Regions from separate parts of the Homo sapiens genome. Here regions 1 and 2 are each linked to region 3. Evidence: promoter capture Hi-C in 16 types of primary human blood cells and fetal thymus (Javierre and others, 2016). All regions are on one chromosome and are shown on one strand. The core of a region is centred on a gene start or on the middle of the fragment in contact, and the rest is flanking DNA. Distances in the headings are between cores, read along the strand shown.

Region 1 (3,628 bases), core at 268-2,767, 920 kb after region 3:
ACAGGCGTGAGACACCGCACCTGGCCTCTTTGAGCCTTTTGAAATAATGATCTCAGGACCAGGACAGAGATGCTTCTGTCTTTTTTTTAGGTTTGCACACTTATTAAATGTCTCTTGTGGGCTTGTTCAAGTGTGTCTGGGTTTTCATATCTCTTAAGTAACTTATGACCTTCCTCAGGTATGTTAGGAGCCTGAGGCCTTTACCTAATAAGCTATCTTCCTTACTTTAGCTGTAGAAGGCTGCAACAGGATAGGTGGCTGAATCAGTTAAGATAAACTAGGCTTCAAGCCAGAGCTCGGGCTAGAAACAACAGAGGCTTATTTCTCACTTACTACATGTTGATCATGGGTAATGTCATATTGTTCTTTACATCATCTTACTTGCTCTGGCACCCAGATTGCCCCAGCAGCTACTATCTAGAACTTTGGAGTTGCTGTGGCAGAAGGAAAGAGATGTGGTAGTGGTAACTTGTTCTTAAATTACAGTTGGAAACAACACAAGTCGCTTCTGTGGACATTTCCTTGGCCAGAGCAGCGTAAATAAGCAAGCCTGGCTTCAAGGGGATGTGAAAGAAAACTCGCACACTGAGGGAACCAGCTCTTGGTGAACAGTAATACAATTTACCACAGTGGTCATCAAGGGCCAACGGAGATGTCTCAGGCTCTGCGAGTCTCTGGAGTGAGACTGATTCATCATTCTAGGGTCTGTGGATAGGCTTCTAGGAGTCTGAAATTGTGTGAAAGTTCTGGGTGTATGTGCATTTTTATGGGGAACCTCCGTGGATTCTTTTATTTATTTATTTATGTATTTATATTTTTTGAGATGGTGTCTTGCTCTTGTCACCCAGGCTGGAGTGCAATGGCACGATCTCAGCTCACTGCAACCTCTGCCTCCCAGGTTCAAGTGATTCTCCTGCCTCAGCCTCCTGAGTAGCTGGGACTTCTTCTCCAGGTTCTTTTTTTTTTTTTTAATTTTATTTTTCATCTCACCCTCCTACTCTTTGGATTCTTAAAGGAGTCATTCTGTGACCCAAAAAAGGTTAAGCATCACTTCTTTAAAGAAAAAGTTTGGGGGCCAGATGCAGTGTCTCACACCTGTAATCCCAGCACTTTGGGAGGCAGAAGCAGGAGGATTGCTTGAGCCCAAGAGTTTAAGACCAACCTGGACAACATATTGAGACCTTGTTTCTTTAAACAAAACAAAGAAAAACCAGTAAATTAAAAAATTTGGTGTTGAACATAACTCAATGAAGGATAAGTAAGAATTCAGTTGTATGAGAATCCATGTTGGCTAAAATTTGCCTGACTACATCTGTTCTCTGTGGGAGATGCTGGTATGGATTTGGGCTTGGATTTTCAGATGTGGAGAGGCCATGCCAGGGGCTGTGTGTGCATGCACTAATAGGATTTTCTTCTTGGGGAACATAGGTTGTATCTGCAGCAAACGCTCAATGACACTGTGGGCAGGAAGATTGTCATGGACTTCTTAGGTTTTAACTGGAACTGGATTAATAAGCAACAGGGAAAGCGTGGCTGGGGGCAGCTTACCTCTAACCTGCTGCTCATTGGCATGGAAGGTAAGAAATCTTTCAAAAGCAGCATGGCTTGGAGTCATATGAACCTGATTTCTAATCCTGTCTTCACCGCTTATTAGCTCCATGACTTTGAACAAGCCACTTCACTTTCTTAAGCCTCAGCCTACTCAGCTCTAAAAGAAACATAATAGGGGCTGGATGCCGTGGCTCACGCCTGTAATCCCAGCAGTTTGGGAGGCCAAGGTGGGTGGATGATGAGGTCAGGAGATGGAGACCATCCCGGCCAACATCATGAAACCCCGTCTCTACTAAAATACAAAGAAAACAAATCAGCTGGGCATGGTGGTGCGTGCCTGTAGTCCCAGCTACTCGGGAGGCTGAGAGAGGGGAATTGCTTGAACCCAGGCGGTGGAGGTTGCAGTGAGCCAAGATCACGCCACTGCACTCCAGCCTGGCGACAGAGCAAGACTCTGTCTCAAAAGAAAGAAAAAGAAACATAATAGGGCCAGGCATGGTAGCTCATATTTGTAATCCCAGCACTTTGGGAGGCCAAGGCAGGAGGATTGCTTGAAGCCAGAAGTTTGAGGCTACAGTGAACTATGATTGCACCACTGCACTGCAGCCTGGGCAACAGAGTGAGATCCTATTGCTTAAAAAAGGAAAAATGAAAAGAAATGAAACATGATAATGTCTTGTAAATAGTTGTGAAGTTGTGAAGATTAAATGAAATAATGTATGTCGAGTCTGTTTTTTTTTGTTGTTGTTGTTTTGTTTTTTTGAGACAGAGTCTCACTCTGTTGCCTAGGCTGGAGTGCAGTTGTGTGGTCTCGGCTCACTGCAACCTCCGCCTCCCGTGTTCAAGTGATTCTCCTGCTTTAGCTCCCAAGTAGCTGACACTACAGGCGTGTGCCACCATACCCGGCTTATGTCGAGTCTTTAAGCTAGTTTCGTGTATTCTAAAAAGTTCCCTTTTCCCTTCCTCAGCTGTTATGTGAGTGTGTATACTGAGATATTAGGGACCTCTCTGAAATACAGACATGTGATGCTTAATGTCAGGGATACGTTCTGAGAAATGTGTTGTTAGGTGACTTCATCATTGTGCAAACACCATAGAGTATAGTTACACAAACCTAGATTGTGTAGCCTTCTATATGCCTAGGCTATATGGTGTAGCCTCTGACTAAACCATGTACTACATGGTGTTAGCATATTACTGTGCTGAATATTATAGTCAATTCTAACACAATGGTAAGTATTTGTGTATCTAAACATACCTAAATATAGAAAAGGTATAGTAAAAGTACGGTATCAGATACTGCAGGAAAAAGGTGACAAAAGAAAAAAGTATATAAAGGTTAAAAAATGGTAGTTTGGGAATTTTTTTATTGCCAAAAAAAAAAAAGATAAAAAACGGTATACCTGTATAGGGCTGCTCCATCATAATCTTATGGGAGCACTATCGTAGATGCAATCTGTTGTCGACTAAAATGTCATCATGTGGCACATGACTGTACCACTTTTCTCTACTAGATCTGTCTATATTCAGACAATTTTTGTCCCTGTGAAAGAGGAGAAACTTATTTTTTTAGTGTAAATTCAACTTTATTGTTTTTATTTATTTATTTATTTTTGAGACAGAGTCTCGCTCTGTCGCCCAGGCTGGAGTGCAGTGGCGCGATCTCGGCTCACTACAAGCTCCGCCTCCCAGGTTCACGCCATTCTCCCACCTCAGCCTCCCAAGTAGCTGGGACTACGGGCGCCCGCCACCACACCTGGCTAATTTTTTTTGTACTTTTAGTAGAGATGGGGTTTCACCGTGTTAGCCAGGATGGTCTCGATATCCTGACCTCATGATCCACCTGCCCCGGCCTCCCAAAGTGCTGGGATTACAGGCGTGAGCCACCGCGCCTGGCAAATTCAACTTTATCTTTTAAATAGATAATACATTCATGGAGTTCGAATTCAAAAGGTGTAAATAGGTACATAGTGATAACTACCCCTGTCTCTTAGCCTCCCAATTTCCTCCCTGGAGGTACTGCATATTATTAGTTGCTTGTGTTTTCTGCTAGAGAAATTTATGCATACACTAATAA
Region 2 (3,192 bases), core at 16-2,515, 750 kb after region 3:
CACACCTGGGTTTTAAGCTTTCCTCTCAAACCATAGATACGTACCCAACATTTCCTGTCTACTTTTCCTAAACTACACTTCACCCTCCTATAAGATTGTGAGCTCCTCAAAAGCATCTTCCTCTTTCAGAAATGTCTCCCTGCCCCTAAACAGTCAGCACTGGAAATGACAGAATGAGCTCATGTCTTGCTCTAAATTCTGTCACTGCTACAAACTGTGTGAAATGTCACAGGGAGTAGGAGTCATATTTTGTGACCTGTAGTTAACTTTCCGTGCTGCAGGCAAAGCGCTGATTCTTGTACACTGACTTTGGAACAAATGCCACAGGCCCTAATTGCAGGCTCCAAGGAGTTGAGATTCCATACTGGGGTTGCTGGAGGCAGAAGCCTTCCCACTTTCAGGACCCGGACCTGCCCTTCCCCCACGCGGTCCCGCCCAGCCAGCTACACCCTGGCCACAGAGCGCTCACAAAGGCTCAGTGTGTGTATGCCGGGCTGACTCACAGTGGTTCTGGGCCCAGGCGAGGACCTTCTCAGAGGGGCGGAAGGGGCCCTCTCCCTCCTGGCCATTTTCCATGGGGAGCAGTCAGTAACCAGGACCATGCCAGACTTCAAAAAACAGAGAGGAAAGTGGAAGTGAAAGGCAGCAGAGGACTCAGAATTGCTGTTTCTTATTTCTTTCTTAGAGAATTATGGACAGCAGGAAGGACTCACCTTTTAGTCTGTCAGTTTGTTTGCGAGAGAGAGAGAGAGAGAGAGAGAGAGAGAGATACATTTTAATTGAGAGACAATTCACACAATATAAAACTAACCACTTTATTTATTGAGATAGGGGTCTCACTATATTGCCCAGGCTGGTCTCAAACTCCTGGGCTCAAGTGATCCTCCTCCCTTGGCCTCCCAAAGTGCTGGGATGACAGGTGTGAGCCACCGTGCCCGGCTAAACTAACCATTTTATTTTATTTATTTATTTTGAGACAGAGTTTTGCTCTTGTCGCCCAGGCTGGAGTGCAATGGGATGATCTCGGATCACTGCAACCTTCGCCTCCCGGGTTCAAACGATTCTCCTGCTTCAGCCTCCTGAGTAGCTGGGATTACAGGCACCTGCCACCATGCCCATCTTTTTTTTTCTTTCTTTCTTTCTTTTTTTTTTTTTTTTTAGGAGAGATGGGGTTTCACCACGTTGGCCAGGCTAGTCTCAAACTCCTGACCTCAGGTGATCCGCCCGCCCCACCCTCTCAAAGTGCTGGGATTACAGGTGTGAGCCACCGTGCCAGGCCGAACTAACCATTTTAAATTGACCAGTTCTGTGGCACTTAGTGCATTCATAACATTGTGCAAACACTACCTTTTGTTCTAAAACATTTTCACCCCAAAAGAAAACTTGAACCCATTCAACAGTGATTCCCCATCTTCCCACCCACACTCGGCCCCTGGTGACCATCAGTCTGCTTTCTGTCTCTGTGGATTTACCACTTCAGGATATTTCCTATACATGGAATCGTACAATATATGACCTTCTGTGTCTGGCTTCCTTCTCTTGGCATAATCTTTCAATGTTCATCCCCATTGGAGCATATATCAGTACTTCATTCCTGTTTATTACCTATTCATATTCCATTGTATGAATACACCACAGTTGGTTTACTGATTTATCAATTGATGAACACTGGAGTTGCTTCCACCTTTTGGTTATTGTGAATAGCACTGCCATGAACATTTGAGTGCAAATATGAGTACCCGTTTATAATTTATTAGGGTTTATATCTAGGAGTGGAGTTGCTGGGCCAGATGCTAATTTGATATTTAACCTTTTGTGGCACCATCAAACTGTTTCCCCAGTGGCTGCACCACTTTAAATTTTCTCCAGCAATGTATGAGAGTCACCCTCTTCTTAACGTGTACCCATTTGTCCCTTTCCTCTTTCCTACTTTTTACAAAGCCAGTTCCCCACAGACTTCTCTTTCCCCTGGAGTAGAGGGTGGGAGAAGTTGCATCTCTAGTAGAAAGACTATCCAAGCCTCCATTCTTACCTTTTCCGCAAATAGAATACGGTGACCAGGAGGAGGAGAGGACAGGCTGCCACCTCCCTGTGGTCACTAAGGTACACCCACTACAGCCATTAACGCGACTCCGTAAAACTACCCTCCTAGCGACCTCCAACGCCTCGGTCCTCACCCAGAACATCACATTAAACTTTTCAACAGTCACAGATAGGAAGGGGCTCGGTGTGGAAGGTGCCAGCTCTGGCTCAGCCCTGCGGGTGAGTGTTTAACTTTCAGCCCAGCTTAAGATCTCCGAAGACACCCATCGCCTCGTCCTGCCCAGTCCCCTCCGCTAAAGGGCCGGCCTGCCCGGGCCTGGCTGGCAGCTGACATGAATGGAGAGGAAGCGCCTCCCTCTCCACCCACTCTCGCCGGGGTTACTGCCGGTCACAGACCCGGGCCTTCAAGAGCTATTTACACCTACAACAGCCCACCAGCGCCTGACCACGCCGGAGCCAATCAGCGGCCCCCAAGCTTGTCTGATTCTGTCTGCTCCAATCAGGAGGCGCGGTCCTTCCAGCCTCTTGCTCCTGTGAATCACAGGTCGGCGGGAGCCTTTTTTCCTTTTTTTTTTTTTCCCGGGGAGTCGGCCTCGGGGCTCTGCTCTCCTACCTCAGTCTGCCCTACCCTGGAATGGGGAAAATGCGGACATGCCACTCAGTCCGGCCGCGAACAGTGCTCCAGAACTCAGAGAGTTTTCCAGACGGGTGGAGATCGCGTTCCCTGCCCGCCGAGGTCCCATCGCTTCCCTGCTGGGAAGACAAATGAGGCGCTTTAGCCGTCTCCACGGCCAGCCCCTCCCTCATAACCCGAGATTCTTTGTGGGCTCTTAGTCCATAGCTGCCTTTGAGGTGGTGTAGACCTTGCTAACCAGGACGGCCCAGTAGGCAGAGCTCATTTTTATTCCTGTCTGCAATCGTGCAAAAACGCCTCTTATGGAAAAGCCAGAGCGCCAGGAGTCAGCAAAACACACTAAAGATTGGGCAGTCACTGGGGAGAACGTGAGTAAAAGCACAGGAACAGCAAAGCGTTCAGGAACGTTCGAGGCTGACGCAACCGGCGCAGGAAGGTGGTGTGTGGTGGGAGAGTGGGAGGAGACAGTGGAAAGTTTAGACTTGCTTCTGTAAGTGATAAGAAGTCATCAGATA
Region 3 (3,625 bases), core at 774-3,273:
GAACCAAAGGGAAGTAAAAGGGATCTACTTTGCCTTTCCCAAGTTGATTCTCTCCTCCTTTTGAATACATAACACTTTCCTGATTTGAAGAGAAAACATACATCAAAAAGCTGCCAGGTCACTGTTTGACTATTACCCTTCACATGTAAAGGAGGCATCGGTCTTTGTCATATCAACAGTCCCCTCTAGTTTACCTCTCCCTCAATTCAGTCCTCACCTTTAATGGCTGGCACCTTTACTAATGTACAAGAATAAGAACTGTAAAGAACAATAATCTGTTTCTTTCTTCACCCAGCTTTCTTCAGAAGGACCTGACTTCAGTACACATAAATCATCCTGCTTGGTTGTGAATGCAATTAGTTTTACTTTCACAAGAATCGTGTCCTCTTGTTGATCTCTTTCCATTTTCTTCATACTTACATCTACTTTCTAATACCGTCACACTTCCTTTCTAGGCAACTTCTCCCTTTTTGCCAACTTCAGGTGGCCAAAGAAATATGCTATCAGTTTCATCTCTCTTGTTTGGAGGCTGATGTGCTCCCTGAACATACAGTCCTAATCCCAGCTCAATTTTCATGTTCAGGAAATAGGTGGGGTATCATGCTTGCTTCACAGAGAAACTGAAACCTATTCCTGAATACGATCTTTCCCACATTACTTCCAGTCTGGAATTCTGCATTCTCACTGCACAATGATTTCCAATCACTCATGTGTTAAGATTTAACATGTAAGTCCTTTATCTAGCTGAGAGATCCCAGATTCGGGTTCCTGCCCCGTCAGTAAGGGAAGATACAGCAAGGAGTTTGTAAAAGCACTAGCCCAGAAAACATCTCAAGCCGTTAGATCCATTTCAGGGTCTGGTTCACGCCAGTTGGCTTCACCTTAATCGAGTTAGTAGCACTTACCTGAGCTTCGGGATACCCCATCCCACCCTATTCCTGTTTAGTCCCAGGTGGGGTCCAGGGCTTTGGCTGACAGATTTTCGATCCTGAGTCCCGATTCAGATTTCACTGACGGTTAGAAATAGGTCCTGGTTCCTGACTGGGATCAACTCCCAGCTGGGACCTTGCTTGAATGGAGTGTCGGTTCGAATCATGTGGTAGTGGCAGGAGCCAGGAAGGAACCCATGTCGGCTCCGGCTCTCAGCCGGGATCCTGGCTCCGGACAAGACCCAGGGGTCGGGTCAGCCCCAGGTCGGGTTCGAAGCCGGGTGCAGGTCTCACCTTGACGCAGTCGATGGGGTACATCACGCAGTGCTCCAGGATCCCTGCCACGGCGCCTGCCACCATGTGCGTGGTGACAGTGGCTCCAGCCGGCAGCGCCTCGTAGTCCGGGCCGGAGTCCGGATCTTGTCGTACCGGGGGCCTGCAGGCCCCGGCCTCCCCGCCGCCGGCCCCCCGGCCCACGCCCCGCTGCAGCCACCCGTCCAGCAGCGCCGACTCCCCGGGGCTCCGCCCGGGCCCTGCCGCCGGCCCCCCCGCCACACCGCCAGCACCCCGCCCCTCCAACTCCATCCACCCGGGCCAGCTGCGGCGCCCACCCCCGCCGCCGCTGCCACCACTGCCGCCGCCGCCCCCCGGCCCCGTAGTGTCCGCCTCAGGCGCGGCCCAGAGAGCCCGGGGCCTCCGGCTCCCGCTTGGCCCCGCGGACACGCCCCCCAAGCAACCATTGGTGGAGACGCCAAGTTAGACCCACCCCTTTCCTTACGTACGAAAAATCAGCCGGTAGTATTAGCGAAGTCGCCTGTCATTCCTCCGCCCTGAGGCGTTGCTAGCGCCTACATCCCACCTTTTCCCCTTTGATCTTAGAAGCTTCTTGTTTATTGGTCACTGATTGGCCGACATGTGCGATCAACCCGCCTCTGACTTTTAGAAGGGCGGGAGAAACTTAAGGCTGAACTTTGATAGGCTCAACCACTCTTGATACTTTGACCGCGGCCATTGGCCCGCACCACGTCGGTCCCCGATTGGCTACAGAAAGAGCGACGCGCCCAGGGACTCTAGGGGCCGACTTCGGGCCCCTCACTAGCGCCTGCAGAGCTGCGGTCCCTGTGCGCGGGATCGCGTCGGGGGCGGGGCGGCGACAGGCCTTCAACGTCAAACTGCTGACGGGCGCCGTTACGACCCGCGCTCCCGTGCGCTCCTCAAATTCTGAGACGCGTGGCTGGAGAGCGGGCGGCCCTGGCCCCGGAGAGCCGTGTTCCCGCGGGATCTCGTCGCGGGCGTGAGGCGGGGCCGGCCTGGGCCGGTCATCCCTGGCTGGCGCGACCCGCAGCCTGTCCGGGAAGCCGTTGCGACATGCGGGCTGGGAACCGCCTCACCTCCAGGGGGGACCGCGGCGGCCCGCTAGACTCTGGTCGGGTCTGGAGTATTGGGCCCTCTGGCCGGACTCGGTGCTCCTCAGGCCCCAGCGCCCGGCACTGAGCCTCGCATCCACATTCGCAGAGTAAACCCAACAAGTGTTGAATGAATGAGGTTCCCCGGGCCCCGGCTGTCACTGGGCTCTGCGCCAGGCCAAGAGCCGAAGGCGGGGGAGGAAGATGTCGAAATGGGCGGGATGATTCACAGATGACGGCCGGTGGCGAGGCGGGGCTGGAGGCCGCATCCCAAAGGCAGCAGGGAAGTGCGGCGGCTGTGGGGAAGCTCGGACGCACGGCCTGGCCGAGTCTGAAGCATCAGTATTTTGTCCCTGAGCCGGCGCGCTGATGGGTCCCCCGCCTGGCGATGAGGGCTTCTCCCTCCCTCGGGTCAGCCCGGGTCCTGAGAGGCAAGGCCAGCGATTCCCGGCCTTAGGACCTCCTGCTCTAGGGAGCACGGGCGTCTTCTTCCATTTGCCTTCCCCGAGCGTGTTGGCACAAGCTGCCCGCGGTTTCCAGCTCTGTCTTCTCTGTTTTACCCAGATGATGCAACTGTGGACTTCTCCATCTGTTCATAGGTTTTCCTTGGATAGGAAAGATGTTTTCCTTTTTTCTTTCTAAAGTTTAGCTCTTCTCTGGGCTTCCTTTTTAAAAACTTTTTCTACTCTCTTCAGCAGTTGTTATTAACCTTTAGGTCGCGACCGTTTGGAAAATAATAAAACTACGAATTCTCTTCTCCTACTTCCACCTCCCATCCCCTGTGTGCACTCAAAATTTTGCATATCATTTCTGCGTTTCAGAGTCCCTGAAGGTGCCATGTGGACACCCTAGGGGTCCATTAACCTGGTTAACCTCTCCCTGGCCGGCGCAGTGGCTCATGCCTGTGACCCCAACACTGTGAAGGCCGAGGTGGGACGATTTATTGAGCTCAGGAGTTCGAGACCAGCCTGGACAACATGGCAAAACCCCGTCTCTACAAAATAATAAATACAAAAAAGTACAAAAATTCAAAAATTAGCTGGGTATGGTGGTGTGCACCTGTAGTCTCAGCTACTTGGGGGAGGATTGCTTGCGCCAGGGAGGTCGAAGCTGCAGTGAGCCGTGTTCATGCCACTACACTCCAGCCTGGGTGACAAAGCAAGACTTTGTCTCAAAAAAATTTTTTTAAAAGGAACTTCTCCCCCACAGCATGTTCAGTCTCTCCTTTTCTCTAGCATATTTAGCTTGAGAAATGAATAGGTCTCACAAAAACCCATTCAATCCTGCTAG

What was found. Contacts are between HindIII fragments. The CHiCAGO score rates a contact against its expected background, and 5 or more counts as called.
Region 1: a contact is called between a fragment that was not itself captured here and the fragment with the promoter of SLC25A28-DT in region 3, in 1 of 17 cell types (fetal thymus). The highest score is 7.0, in fetal thymus.
Region 2: a fragment that was not itself captured here is called in contact with the fragment with the promoter of SLC25A28-DT in region 3 in 1 of 17 cell types (fetal thymus); the score reaches 7.8 in fetal thymus.

Annotation. Positions count from the first base shown.
Region 1 is chr10:100,539,206-100,542,833 of GRCh38, forward strand. It overlaps HIF1AN (hypoxia inducible factor 1 subunit alpha inhibitor), which reads left to right. Exons shown (of 8, transcript NM_017902.3): 3 at 1,429-1,577. Among named protein-coding and RNA genes, the nearest start is that of HIF1AN, 5.1 kb to the left of the region's middle. The HindIII fragment of the contact is 8,099 bases long and covers 1-3,628 here.
Region 2 is chr10:100,370,968-100,374,159 of GRCh38, forward strand. OLMALINC (oligodendrocyte maturation-associated long intergenic non-coding RNA) reads left to right here and starts at 2,609. Exons shown (of 3, transcript NR_026762.1): 1 at 2,609-3,045. RefSeq lists enhancers at 2,172-2,501, 2,231-2,800, 2,602-2,731, 2,801-3,192. The HindIII fragment of the contact is 2,501 bases long and covers 16-2,516 here.
Region 3 is chr10:99,618,822-99,622,446 of GRCh38, forward strand. It overlaps SLC25A28-DT (SLC25A28 divergent transcript), which reads left to right and starts at 2,024. Exons shown (of 1, transcript NR_186534.1): 1 at 2,024-3,097. SLC25A28 (solute carrier family 25 member 28) reads right to left here and starts at 1,618. Exons shown (of 4, transcript NM_031212.4): 1 at 1,224-1,618. The coding sequence starts at 1,514. RefSeq lists enhancers at 844-1,426, 2,010-2,592, 2,593-3,174 and silencers at 1,309-1,468, 2,199-2,358. The HindIII fragment of the contact is 4,603 bases long and covers 1,810-3,625 here.